3 separate regions of the Homo sapiens genome follow, and all the other regions are linked to region 2. Evidence: promoter capture Hi-C in 16 types of primary human blood cells and fetal thymus (Javierre and others, 2016). All regions are on one chromosome and are shown on one strand. Each heading gives the region's core, a stretch centred on a gene start or on the middle of the fragment in contact. The rest is flanking DNA. Distances are from core to core; before and after follow the strand shown. Region 1 has its middle 13 kb from the start of LINC03040. Region 2 holds the start of MRPS18A (mitochondrial ribosomal protein S18A). Region 3 overlaps SCIRT (stem cell inhibitory RNA transcript).

The links. Contacts are between HindIII fragments. The CHiCAGO score rates a contact against its expected background, and 5 or more counts as called.
Region 1: a contact is called between a fragment that was not itself captured here and the fragment with the promoter of MRPS18A in region 2, in 1 of 17 cell types (erythroblasts). The highest score is 6.2, in erythroblasts.
Region 3: a fragment that was not itself captured here is called in contact with the fragment with the promoter of MRPS18A in region 2 in 5 of 17 cell types (erythroblasts, monocytes, M0 macrophages and 2 more); the score reaches 10.6 in erythroblasts.

What each region holds. Positions count from the first base shown.
Region 1 is chr6:43,984,833-43,989,664 of GRCh38, reverse strand. No RefSeq gene overlaps it. Among named protein-coding and RNA genes, the nearest start is that of LINC03040, 13 kb to the left of the region's middle. RefSeq lists an enhancer at 4,116-4,711. The HindIII fragment of the contact is 5,894 bases long and covers 1-4,537 here.
Region 2 is chr6:43,685,843-43,690,326 of GRCh38, reverse strand. It overlaps MRPS18A (mitochondrial ribosomal protein S18A), which reads left to right and starts at 2,536. Exons shown (of 6, transcript NM_018135.4): 1 at 2,536-2,659. The coding sequence starts at 2,548. It overlaps LOC124901320 (a long non-coding RNA gene), which reads right to left and starts at 1,365. Exons shown (of 2, transcript XR_007059586.1): 1 at 988-1,365; 2 at 434-656. RefSeq lists enhancers at 2,166-2,777, 2,723-2,782. The HindIII fragment of the contact is 1,093 bases long and covers 2,241-3,333 here.
Region 3 is chr6:44,010,639-44,015,313 of GRCh38, reverse strand. The region is part of intron 1 of SCIRT (stem cell inhibitory RNA transcript); the gene reads left to right. Among named protein-coding and RNA genes, the nearest start is that of LINC03040, 12 kb to the right of the region's middle. RefSeq lists a silencer at 4,594-4,675 and an enhancer at 3,883-4,675. The HindIII fragment of the contact is 3,154 bases long and covers 1,537-4,675 here.

The DNA of each region.
Region 1 (4,832 bases), core at 341-2,840, 300 kb before region 2:
CTCCTTTGTGTGGGGTGTTGAGGGGGCAGCCCCTCAGCTCTGCCTGTCCCCAAAGCTGGCGACTGCACGTGGCCAGACGGAGTTGCTCTGTTCCTAGGCTGGATGCAAAATGAGGAGGGGCTCCACTAACTTCAGTGTTCCTTCTAAGGAACCAGTGTCCACTGGTCCTGTGAAGAGGGGCCCTGCACCCCAAATCCTTCCCCTTTGCCAGCACCCATCACAGCCCGTGACATGGAGTAGGGACTGAGGGTGTGGCTGTTGACCCAAGTAATTAACTACTGCTTCCTGAGGGCTGAGAAACTGAGGCTGAGAGTTTGAGAAGACACTCCTTCTAACACACACACACACACACACACACACACACACACACACACACACAGGCACAGACACCTTTTCCATTCATTTCACAAATAATGACCCTTTTCTATTATTTTAATTTTTTATCTTTTGTAGAAATGGGGTCTTGCTATGTTGCCTAGGCTGATCTCAAACTCCTGGCTTCAAGAGATCCTCCTGCCTTGGCTTCCTAAAGTGCTGGGATTACAGACATGAGCTACTTTCCCAGGCTACAAAAAACAACCATTTTTAACTGAGCACTTACTATGTCTGAGGCACTGTACTAGTGCACCCCATCCATTACTGTGTTTAAACATCACAACAGTGGTGTTTAAAGAGAATGGGGCCCAGAGAGGTTAAGTGACTTGCCTAAGGTCACACAGCAAAGAAGTCGAATTGGTATTCAAACCTAGGTTAGAACAGCATTTGTCTTTTTTTAATGAGAAATTTTAAACATTCAGACAAATGGAGAGAGCAGTACAACGAAACTACAAGTACCGATTACCAGAATAGCATAATGAACATTTTGTTTGCCAGATTTGCTTCATCTTTTCTGTGCTGAAATATTAAAAAGTAAATTATAGACATATAGCATGTCACCTCTACTCATTTAAGAATGCATCTCTAAAAAATAAACCAAATTTTCTATATAAACCAGCATGCCATTCTTACATTGAACAAAACAGTTTGCAATATCTAATATGCAGCTCATGTTCAATTCCCCCAATCGGTCCCCCAGATTTTTATCACTCTACCACACTACCATTGAGGAGTGGGCAGATGGGGTTTGGGGAGGTCTCTGCCAGTCTCTGTGCCTCAGTTTCCTGTGGGGACGCAACTCTTACCTTCTCCTCTTTTCCTTGCTGGGGCAAGGTTTCTGGACAGGAGAGTGACGGGGACCCGAGGGACCCTGTGGGGTGCTAGAAGCTGTGAGGGAGGCTCAGGGGAGCCCCTTATCTCCTGGGGTGGTGACCATGGAGTGAGGTGGATGTCCTGATGGGCCAGAGAGGGGCCATGTCCTGGCGGAAGGAACCTCAGCAGGGCTCTCATGCCTGGCCTTCCTGTCAAGGTATGGGCTGTCTCAACCCAGTGAGACCTTGAGCCTGCGACCCCCTACCTCACAGGGGACCCTCTCCACCATGGGCCCACCAGACCAAACAGCCCACCAGCCTGCCTCAGCCAAAACAGGAGCTGAGGAAGGTCAGCTTATCAGGATTCCCTTACTCCCTCACCCCATGGGCCTGCTTTTCAGCCACTATCAGTGTCTGGGGCAAGGGAAGGGGTTGACGGGACAGGGCAAGGCCATTCCCGGGGGTCACTCCTAAATGGAGAGAAATGCTATTTCGCAGGATGTTGGGAGAGTCTGGGGACCCACAGGTGACAACAAAGGGGCCTGCCAAGCAGTGGCCAGTTAGATCAGGGGTCTCTAGGCCTCCTTCCTGTCCCATGCCTGTTCTGTCCTCAGTTCATGGGGTGAGTGAAAGGACCCTGACTTAAGACAGGAGGTGGCTCAGGTGACCTCTTGGTCATCACTCCCTGAATAGGGATTGAGACGTTGAAGGTCAAGTCAGACCAGCCCTGAAGGGGCAGAGCTGAGTCTCCCCTCAGTCTGGGGCCCCATGAGAACAGGGCTGTGTCTCCCTCAGACTGAGGCTCACTGAGGATGGGTCTGTGTCTCCCCTCAGACTGGGGCTCCCTGAGGATGGGGCTGCGTCTCCCCTTGGACTGGGGATCTGTGAGGATGGGTCACATTCACCTTCCCTATCATCATTGCCCCTCAGGGCCCATTCTGCCCTGCTGGGCTGAGTGGGGAGCCCCAACTGAGGATCCCCAGTTCCTCATTGCTCCAGAACCCAGGGCAGGGCTGAGAAGAGAATGAGTTGGTTTCACCTTACTAAGAGGGGAGAGGAAATGGAACAATTTGGTGAGAGCCCACTGCTGGATGGGTTACAGAACCTGCTCCCTCTAAAGGATTTGGGCATGGAGGCAGAAGATGGAAGAGACAGCTTCCTCCTGGGCTCCCCCTTCCTTCTCTAGAACACCTCATCATCTACACTTCTTGTAAGATGCTCCTAGACACTCCTAGGCTCAGGAGCCAGGAGGTGGCTCCCAAGGGGCCCTCCACGGGCTCTTGAGCAAGCTCCTTCCCCTGCGCCCTAGTACCCAGCCTTGGACTTGCTGGGCAGAAGCAAAAGAGAGGGCTTAACCTTGAGTAGGGGCTGAGGGGAGCAGGAAGAACATGTTCCAGGGAAAACATGGAGCAAGGTTGCCAGATAAGCATGGGAGGGGGAGAGGTGGCAGGATGGGAAAAGGGTCTTCAGGAGCTCCCCCAGGCCCAAAGCTCCAAAGCCACTGACCGCTGCCCTAAACTGGACCCTAACAGGGTCTCCTTTGAGAAGGCTGCCTGACTGAGGAACTCACTCCCTTTCTTCTCCCAGGAGCCCTGAGTGTCTGTGCATCCCCTACCAGGCATCAGCCTCTCTCCCAAGAGCTCAAACACCATGCATAAGTCCTCTTGGTCCTCCCAAAGTACCTGTCAGTGGGTTTGCACACAGCAGGCACTTGATAGAGACAGTTGGCTGGAAGCTCGAAACAGAACCCTCTGATTGCAGCCTTTGCTATCCTGAGCCAAGTGCTCAGGGAGATTACCCTTTATCAGCACGTCCCTCCTCAGGAGTACCCGCAACCTGCCCTGTGCACTTCTGCTCAGCAGACCCTATCACTCTGTTCTCTTGGGTGGTTGTTCCGTGAGACAGGAGTACAGCTGGAGAGCCTAGGGGCTGAGAGCAAACGGAGCCTCAGTCTCAGAAGGGAGACATGGCCTGTCCTCAGGGATCTCCAGTCTGAGGGGAGACGCAGCCCCATCCTTAGGGAACCCCAGTCTGAGGAGAGACTTGGCCCCATCCTCAGGGAGCCCCAGTCTGAGGGGAACACACAGCCCCTTCCTCAGCATGCTCACAGTCAGTAAGGGAGAGCTATCCCTCCGCCTGCACTCACTGTCAAAGCAACATTGAGAATGGCCAGAGGAGAAGGGTTAATGGCTGAGGGCTCCCACATCAGCCCTCTCCAAGTTCCTGACACATTTCTGCCCTGTCAGGATCAGGGTGAGCTGAGTCCCTGCTCAGACTCATATAGACTTATTTTCACCTCTCAGAGCGAATATCAGGAAAGCCTGGGGTTTCTTTCACCTCTTGGAAGATTTTTTGTGGATGAACTGAGCCCCATGCCTGGCACAACTAGATGTGTCACTGGCAGCCAATTGACTCTCCGTCTTCTTTCAGCTGAGCTTACCTCAGCCATATGCCTTGATGCATCCCTGTTTTATAGATGAGGAAACTGAGACTCAGAAACTCGAGTGGATGCCCAAATGCCATAGCTACAAAATGACAGAGGTCCATTTCCGCTTGGCTTCAAATTATGCTTTCCTTCAGGCCTGAGCTCAGGAGGGGGTGGCCTCTCTGTTTTCTTGGGGTTGGAGCCCCATCTGGCCCCCCACACCTTGGCTTATACAGGGCTCATGAGTGAAGGTCCAATGGGGAGTGTGTGGATTTGCTGTGGGGTGTCTGTAGGTCTAAGTCTCAGGGCCTTTGGGGAAATGCCTTGTGGATACTTGGGGAGACCTCAGGGAGGAGTGTGGGGCAGGGTAGGGGTGAGGGAGAGAGGAAACTTTACTGGTCACCATTGTGCAGTGGGTGGGGCCTCCTGGAGCAATGAAAGAAACTATCTCAGCAAATAACAATAGGCTTTGTGACCAGGCAGGCTCTGCAAATGCTGGTAGGCTCTGCAAACACTGACAGACTCTATATTTGTTGACAGATCCACAATGGCAATAGAGGTGAGGGGAAAACACTGGTGCAGAGGCGCTAAGGGAATTTTCCACTCACCTTAGAAGCCAAGGCAGGTGCTTGGTTCCCATCAGTGGCTCTGCCTTCATGAGAGAGTCCTGGAGGTGGGTAGCCTAGCCCTCTTCCCTCCTCTCGCAGCTCTCTCCAGTGCCTTCTCTGCCTGGTGGGGTGGCCTCCCCCTTAGCAGGCCACAGAGGTGCCAGGGCAGAAGACTATGATGGGGGAGTCCACAGAGAATCCCATGGGGAGCAAGCATGGGGTGGGGGCAGGTGAGGATCCCCCAGGAGATGGGAGTCTGGCCAGCTGGGGAATGGGGCGGTTCTGGTTGCAGGTGGCCATGAGGCAGGCTGGAAGCTTCGCCTGCCCCAGCCCATGGGCCTTTCTGAGCTCCAGAAAGTCTCAGTGCTTGTTTCTCAGCCTTGGGAGTAGAGGAGGGAGTGGTGGGAGCAGCAAACTTTTCCGAATGGAAAATGATGAAATCTTCCTGGAAAGCCGACTTTCCCAAGCTCTGGTGGATACAGCTGATGAGGAGAAACCTGAGCCCTGTGGGCAGGCGGGGGGTCCAGTGGCAGGGGATCGGAGGCGCCTGTCTATGACACAGTCCTGGGAAGCCACCCCAGAGCCGTGGAGGGCGTGCTGCCCATGTCCAGC
Region 2 (4,484 bases), core at 1,287-3,786:
GGCGTGATCTCGGCTCACCGCAACCTCCACCTGCAGGGTTCAGGTGATTCTCCTGCCTCAGCCTCCTGAGGAACTGAGATTACAGGAGCCTACCACGCCCAGCTAATTTTTGTATTTTTAGCAGAGATGAGGTTTCACCATGTTGGCCAGGCTGGTCTCGAACTCCTGACCTTAAGTGATCCACCTGCCTCGGCCTCCCAAAGTGCTGGGATTACAGGCGTGAGCCATTGTACCCAGCCTGTGTATTTTTCTTACACAGGTAATACTTTAATTAAAAGATGTGTTGTTTTTTAAAGCTAGTCTCCTGATCCAAACCTGGTCTCACAGAATTGTAGGGACTAATCATAAATGGATTCAGAAAAATAAGATATTATAAGGCAAAGAATATCCACAGTATTATTTCATCTTGCTAAATGTAAACAATGCTTATCTCTGGATTTTAGATGACATTTATTTTCTTTTTACTTTATTTATTGTTTCATTTTTCTACAATGATCACATGTTACCTGTCATAGTTGTTTTTTAAAATAAAATTTGTTTATGATAAGTTAAGATAAGATAATGAGAAGAGGGTTGGCACTCGAATGCTTTAGCTCACTGTGTCCAAAGCAAGCCCTGGGTGGGGCTCTGTTGCTGCCCTTGTCTCTACTGGATTCCTGGAAGTTGGAAATGGGTGAAGAAACAGAGGATGTAGTACAAACACAAAAGGTCATCTATACATCTATAAGCTCAAGGTCATCTATGCAGAACAAACTTGGAAGCTATAGGGAGAGTCAAAGCTTTCTTGATCCTGGCTGGGACACCTAGACCTACACCTCACTAAGACCCTCTGCTTCACTCCTAATCCATGTGTCAGTCTCTACCACCTTGATTGACTTTTCTTTTAAGTTTCCCCTTCACCGGGTTTACCTTTGCTAAATGAGATGTTTTAACGTAACCCAATGCTGCATTTCTCCTGTTCTCCCTGTCTATGGTGATGCCACTCACATTTTCCATACAGCAGCTGCTCTGCATCCTCCTATTAGGGTGACGGTCCCAACTGGATGATGGGCTCCTCTCCTACTCATCAGAAAACATGCTATGTCATTTAATAAGCCTGATTTTCCCATCTTGAATCAGAGAAGGATAGGAAGAACTGAGTTGTGAATGATTTTCCTTTCCTGTGGAGCTCCAGAGGAACATCCTATACGTCTCACAAATCTGAAAGAGGAAAAACTGGCAGTTGTATTTTCTCTTTGGTACCATAAGCTTCCTTACAACACAAGTGAGTCCAACTTGTGAAAAGAGTCATCTCCATAACTGCTCTATTAACTAGCTTATGTTTATTGAGCCCTTTTGTTTTGTTTTGTTTTGTTTTGTTTTGTTTTTGAGACGGAGTTTCACTCTTGTCGCCCAGGCTGGAGTGCAATGGTGTGATCTTGGCTCACTGCAACCTCCGCCTCCTGGGTTCAAGCGATTCTCCTGCCTCAGCCTCCCAAGTGTCTGGGATTACAGGTGCCCGCCACCACACCCACCTAATTTTTGTATTTTTAGTAGATAGGGTTTCACCATGTTGGTCAGGCTGGTCTTGAACTCCTGACCTCAGGTAATCCACCCGCCTCAGCCTCCCAAAGTGCTGGGATTACAGGCATGAGCCACCACACCCGGCCGATCACTTATGTTTTATCACATCTAATCTTCAGGGTCTAGTCCTCCCCTAGGCCCTATAAAATAGATTCTACTCATTCATTCAACAAGTATATATTGTACTCTTATTATGTGTCAGGAACTATTCTAAGTGCTGGAGATGTGCGAGTCAACAGAAAACAATGTTCCTGACTTCATGGAGCTTACAGTCTGGTGAGAAGACACATACAAAACAAACATAAAACTGAAATTGTCCCAAGCACTAAGATGGAGAGGCATCTGGTGCTGAGAATGGGCAGTCAAGCAAAACTGTGGAAATAAGGTTTGAGGTGAGCTCTAAGAAATAAGCAGAAGCTAACTAGACAGCTAAAGAGCAGACAAAGGAAATAGCTTGTATCAAGGCCCTGGGGCTAGAGAGAGGTCTAAGTATATGCAAATCAAAGATCAGTGTGGCAGTGGTCAGGGAAGAAGGGGGTATCAATTCTATCCCAGGTCTGCCTGATATCCGATACTCCAGAGCCAGAGTTCCTAACCATTTCAGCCTCTCCCGTAGAGGTCTAGCCCCAGTCACAGAAGCTAAAAGTCCACAGCTCACGTGCAGTGAAGAGAAAGCTTTAAAGACATAGGTGGGGTGTTGCGTGCGATTTTCCTAAGGAAGCCTTCCAGGAAACGAATGCAACCTTGAAGACTTGTAGGCATTGGCAGACAGGAGCTAGAAGACCTCCCCTAGATCCTTAACACGAAATATAGGCTTGACGCAGAAGCCTCTCTTCGTATCCCAAAGCGGACAGGTGAGAGAAATGATGTGACAGGAGCAAGCGAACTACAACCCCGCCCCGCCGTTCCTGCCCCACCACTGCGGCGGCGGGCGCTACGTTCCGGAAGCGGAAATGGACGAGAGGTCAGGGTAGGTTTTTGAAGATGGCGGCCCTCAAGGCTCTGGTGTCCGGCTGTGGGCGGCTTCTCCGTGGGCTACTAGCGGGCCCGGCAGCGACCAGCTGGTCTCGGCTTCCAGCTCGCGGGTTCAGGGAAGGTGAGTCATGCGTCCCAGCAACCTCCTGAAATTAAGAAGAGCGGCAGAGACTGCTTCCGCCAGCCCCGGTGCGCTCCTTCCTACCTTTCCTTCGTCCGATTCTGAAACTTTGGAGGTACCGGCTCCCCAGGCGTGCTTAAAAGCCCCTTCCACACCCTGGTGCCTTATCTTGATCTCCTGCCCCTTGTGAGTATCTTCACAAGGCGGAGGAGGACGGAGAGAAAAGCCTGCTTACTTAGCAGGAGCAGACACTAAACCTGTCCTAGGGCTCAGAAAAGTTTTCGGAAAGGGTTTGCATGTTAATTCTTCCTTCCATGTTCTCCGAATCGCAGTCTCTTTTATTAAAGAGTCTCTGGATCACGAAGGAAGGCCATCTGGGTACCCTCCCAGAGCCTCCCTTTCCACTTTCCCTTCTCAAAATGCTGTGATCTGATGGCGGCGTTCTCTGCCCCGGGCCGCTAGTCTCCCTGTGAGGGGGAGGCCAAAGTGGAAAGGCCATTGAATAGCTGAGACATAGGCAAATGCAGGATGGTAGTTCAGCTTTTCATTAATCTTAATCTGGGAAAGCGGCCTGATTCGAGCATCAACTGAGAGTTTACTGAATGCCAAGTGCTATGCTTCAAGCTGTGAAGGAATTCTGGAGACAGAAAATACAGCCCTTTTTCTGAAAAGCTTAGGTTCTAATGAGATTATGTATATACACACTCCAATAAATGCAAGTTAGCCTTTTACGTGACGAAGTACAGGGAGACTCAGTTACTGGAAACGGCAAACCCAGTTGGAAGTTTTCATAAAGAGGATGTGTCTTGAGCAGGCTCACAAAAGGATGGAATCTGGCGGAGAGTGAAACGGTCTTTTAGGACATAGCCTTCCTTTGTGTACTCCTGGAAGCAGGAAAGGATGAGTGATGTGCAAAAGAAGAGATGTGGGGTTTTTTGAGGATCTGGCATAGTATTGGGCAGCATATCCTTTAACGAAAGCTGAGAAGTATCCAGTGGAAAAGAGTGATCATTGTTGTCAGAGGGAGCAGAAAAGTCTAAAAAGGGCCTAATGAAGGGGCCATTGGATTTGTCTCAGAAGAGGTCTCTTTGTAGCTTTCAAACAGCAATTTCAATAGAGTGGCAAACAAGGAATCCAGTTTGGAGAAATGAAAGAGATAGTTGATGAAGAGATGGAAATAGTAAGTATGTTTGAAGAATTTAGCCCGTAAGGGAAGTGGAGCATTTGCTAGAAAAAAAAGTCTGGATATTGCCTGATTAACTTATCCATTAGTAGACCCATTAATAAAGACACTAAAGAAATCATGCAGATGATAGAGAGGACTTGGATGTTTCATTTGTTCCCATGCTGCAAAATAGGCATATCTCCATACCATTTTGGGGAGTCTACCAAGTGTCAAACACTATTGGCTACAATTTGCATATTCTTATGAAATTCAAAGTTGAGGCAGATTTTGCTATGCTTCCAGAAAAAAAGGCAAGAGGAATCGTTTTGTTTTAACAACAAATATTTGAAGTTAGACTTAATTTTTTCCTTTGGAGAGTTTGTGAAATGATGGACTGTAAGCCAGGTACAGTGGTACATATCTTTAATCCCAGCACTTTGGAAGGCCAAGGTGGGAGGATCACTTGAGCCCAGAAATTGGAGTCTAACCTGGGCAACGTAGTGAGAACGCCCACCTCTTTAAAAAAAGTAAAAAAGGATGGACTGTAAATCAAATGGGTCTCTGAAGTCCTTCATCTAAATGTTAGGTTGAATTAATATGATTCTACATGAAGGCACTACCATATTCTATATTCTTAAGAATCACCTATCTTCAAAGCTT
Region 3 (4,675 bases), core at 1,864-4,363, 320 kb before region 2:
TGACAATTAATTACCAGCAGATTTGCATTAATAGGACATTTTATTGGCAGAATAAAATAATTCTAAATGGAAGAATAGAGATACAAGAAAGAATAAAGAGCAATGAAAATGGTATACATGTGGATAAATAGCAAATATATGCTACATATAAATAATAATAATAATGGTGTTTGGGAAGAGTTAAGGTTTTTAAGGTTCTTGCATTTATTTTGGGGAGAGTAAAAGAATCTATTAACATTAGGATTTGTTAAAAAGGCATGCTGTAATCTCTGGGTGGCTACTAAAAAATTATAAAAAAGTGAATAACTTCCACATTTTAAAAGGGGGATAATTAAATAAAATAATTCCAACAGAAGGCAAAGAAAGGAGAGAAAAAGGAGCATAGGTAAGTAGCACACATAGCACTTAGTATTGGTTTAAGTCCAAATAAACAGTAATTCCATCGTATATAAAATGACTATTTTTTCCCATTAAAAGGCAAGGATTTTCAGACTTATTTTGGATAAGAACCCAAATCTGGCACAGTGGCTCATGCCTATAATCTCAGCACTTTGGGAGGCCAAGGTGAGAGGATCACTTGAGCCCAGGAGCTACAGACCAGCCTGGGCAACATAGAGAAAACCCATCTCTACAAAAAATACAAAAATTATCTGGGCGTGGTGATGCATGCCTGTTGTGAGCAGTGAGCATGTAGAGAGGTGTGATCATGCCATTGCACTTCAGCCTGGGCAACAGAGTAAGACCCTGTCTCATAAAAAGAAAAAAGAATCCAAATCCAGCTACACCCTGTACATAGATGTACCTGAAATATAGAGATAAAGTAAAAGTCAAAGATAAAACATGTAACACTAACAAAAACAAAAAGCTAGTGCAGCTATGTTAAAATCAGACTAAACAGATTTTAAAGCAAAGAGCATTGCTAGATATACAGACATTTCACAATGATATAATGTTCAATTTTCCATGAAGATGTAATAATTCTACATTTGTATGCACCTGATAACTTGGCCTCAAAATACAGCTGGCCCTCTATATCTGTGGGTTTCATATCTGTAGATTCAACCAACTGGAAATCAAAAATATTTGAGGAAAAAACAACAAAAAATAATGCAAAATAAGAATAATACAAATAAAAACAGTACAGCATAATAACTATTGATATGGCATTTACATTGTATTAGATATTATAAGTAATCTAGAGATGATTTAAAGTGTATAGGAGGATGTGCATAGGTTATATGCAAATACTACATTATTATATATAAGGAACTTTAGCATTCCAAGATTTTGGTATCCGCAGGGGTCCTGGAACCAACCCCAATACTCAATTTGACACGCAAAGTCCTCTGTGATCTAGCCTCAGGTCACCTTCCTTTCATCCTCCATCTTCCACTGCTCTCCTTTCCAAAGCCTGTGCTCATTCCTCAGCCACCTTCACTCCTAGGCTCTAGTCCTTTCCCCACTATTGACCATTTTGTCTGTTGTGCCCTCTCCCACTTTCGAGAGTGACAGGTCCACAAGTCATCCTTCAAAGCTTAGCCCAAATGACACCTCTACAAAGTCTTCCCAATGACTCACGTTAGTCTTCATCTCTCCCATCATGCCCCAAACTTGGTGACTGCTAGTGGATTTTGAGGCTAGATACCATTGAAATCACCAAGAAACAGAACTCTTGGATCCTCATTATTAGAATACCTATGAGACAAATTTGCTGCTTAGTCTTGGGCCAGTACCTTATCCTCCCTGGCTCTTAGTTTCTACAACTGTACAAGAAGTACTTTGGACTAGAAGTGGTGTTTCTCCAAGGAGAATAGGGGTGCAATGCTTCACTATGCAAACTGCCTTGTCCATTGTGGGATCTAGCATGCCCGGCCTGGGGCACCCAATGCCAGAACATCTCTAATCACTATTACAATGAAAAAGACTCCAAAACATTTTCAAACACTCTAGAGACCATCTCCACTAGACTGGGTGATTCCTTAGGATCTTCCAGGTGAGATACTCTTGGAATCCTCTGGTTGGCGTGTAGGGACCACTGGTGGCCCAGAAACATGCAGAGGGCTGGACAGCGGGCCAATGGTGGGGAATAAGCTGGAACCAAGCTGGAGATGATGCCCAGGCCATATCCTGGCTCCTGAGGGCAGAACTAGTGTTCAGATTCCCAGCCTTCAAAGGGGCATGAACTCTCAAATGGCTCAGGCCTTCTTTTTTTTGAGATGGAGTCTCGCTGTGTCGCCCAGGCTGGAGTACAGTGGCGTGATCTCGGCTCACTGCAACCTCCACCTCCTGGGTTCAAGCAATTCTCCCGCCTCAGCCACCCGAGTAGCTGGGACTACAGGCGCCACCAATACACCTGGCTAATTTTTGTATTTTTTTGGTAGAGACGGGGTTTCGCCATGTTGGCCAGGCTGGTCTTGAACTCCTGACCTCAGGTGATCCACCCGCCTTGGCCTCCAAAATGCTGGGATTACAGGAGTGAGCCACCGCTCCCAGCCCTTTAGGCCTTCTCGTCTGGGGAGCTCCAGTCTGTCCTGAAGAACAGAATGCAGCGAGTAGGTGATGCCCCTGGGGAGGAATGGCTCACTCGTAGCAGGACTCTACAGGTGGGGCTGGCTGGGGCTAAGAGGGGGTCATGGGCTATTAGTGGAGCTGGAATAGCAAGCAAGAAGAGTCAGTTGTCCTATGCAGGCAATCATAGGAAGTTGGGTGGGGTGGGTAGGGGGACAGTTGTGACTTGGGCAGATGGAGAGGGCTCAAGACTGACCACTAGGCATGCCAGCAGTGGTTATGGACAGCAGAACGGTTGTGTTGCCCTCCTGCAGGGGAGAATGCAAACACACCTGGTTGTCCAGACTGGGTGGTGGAGAAGTAAGGGCAGAGAAAGTTCTCGTGTAAATGAGCATGATGAAGGGCAGCAAAGAGTGATGAGGCAACTGCAGAGCCGCCTCTCCTCAGAGGTGGTTTGTGGTGGGGCTCTGGGGGAAACCAGAGTGTTGCCCAATGTTAAGAGCTCAGAGTGAGTTTTCAGGAAGTTCTGGGAATCGTTGCAGTTGTTGATTCACTGAGTCATCCATTCAACAAGGATCTCCAGGGTTGGAATGAGAACACCCCAATCTTGTACATGTTCTGGGACCATAACTCATCTGGTGTGAGGTATCAGAGATTTGGTGACTGGGAAAAGAGGAACTTGGAAGGGGAAGAATTTGTCAGTGTTTATCCAACTGGGCCCAGTGGGGAGGCAGCTCTGAATCGAGAGAACTGGCCTCAAGCAGATGATGGGGGTCGTGACAAAGAAAGAGGGAGGAGGAAGGCTAGAAAGGATTATTTCAGGTACTGTCCCACCTGATCTAATGCCTGCAACCACCCAGTGAGCCCAAGGCTATGATTTCCCCTATTTTTCAGATTAACAAACAGAGGCCCAGTTCTTGAGTTCAGAAGGGCACTTCTTCAGGCTCACCGAGCTTGAATAGCCCTGAGAATCTCCAAACTGCCTTTGCCTCGATGTCTGCAATCTGTGGGTCTCAGATGGTGACTGCCAAAGTGGAAGGCAGTTTCTGTGTCTACTGTGGATCTTTCTGACAGCAACACCTGTCCCCACAGTAGCACCACCAGTTTTCCAGAAGTCTGGTTATATGGCTGGTGTCCCAGAATCTGCTCACCCATGGACAAACACATAAAACTGAATTTTTAAACTTTCCACACCAGAGACCAAGTCTTGGTGACTACACAATGTCAGCTAATGTGTTTTGAGTGTGTGCTATGTGCTTGGCACTGCTTTTAGCAGTTCAGATATATGAACTCATTCATTCCTCACACCAACCTGGGAGGGACATGCCTCTGTTATCCTCATTTTACAGGTGGAGAAACAGAAGCCTGGAGATGCTGAGTAACTTGCCCATAGTCTCACAGCTGACAAGTGGCCAAGAAGGATTCAAACACATGTGTGCTGGCTCCAGTGGCTCCAGAAGTCTGGTGAGGGGCTACCTGAAGCACATTGCCCCCTAGAGTTAAGGACAGCTGGATCTGGGCTCCGGAAGCCTGCAGTTCATTTCTGGCTGCACAACCAATTAGCTGTGTGACCTGAAGCGCATCTCTCACTCCCTCTCTGAATCCCCATTTTCTCCCTGGTTGAATGAAAGGATTCAACTGGATGGTCCCTAGCTTGGTTGGTTGCAGCTCTGACATTTCAAGAGGCTTCATCAGGCTAAAATAAGCACAAGAGCCACGCTGCGGTTGGGAAAGGGCAGCCTGGGACGTGCGTGCGTGGAAGCTGGGAGGCTCTCCATGGTGAGGAGGTGTAGAGGGCTAATTGCTAGTGCATGAGCTCAGCTGGAGGCCACTTTCTCCACTCTGTGCCCACAGCTGGCTGTGAGTCACTGACAGGTCACCAGCCACAGTGGGGCTGCTGGAGACAGGGCAGACCCTGAACATGGAGAGAAGACAAGTCTGACCCGGTGCTGGCCTTAGGGGGCCCAGGGGACTTGCATGCTCTTCCTAGTCCCTGCCTAGTGCTACTGCACCCTACTAGGAAGGCACCCCATCTCCATCTCCCTGAGCACAGCACCCCTTTTCATGGCAGCTCTGCCAGCCCTGGCACTCTGCCACTCAGCTCACATACACTGAGTAGCCATGCTGTGCCAGCACTGAGAGACCGAGGCAGGTAAGAGATGATCCC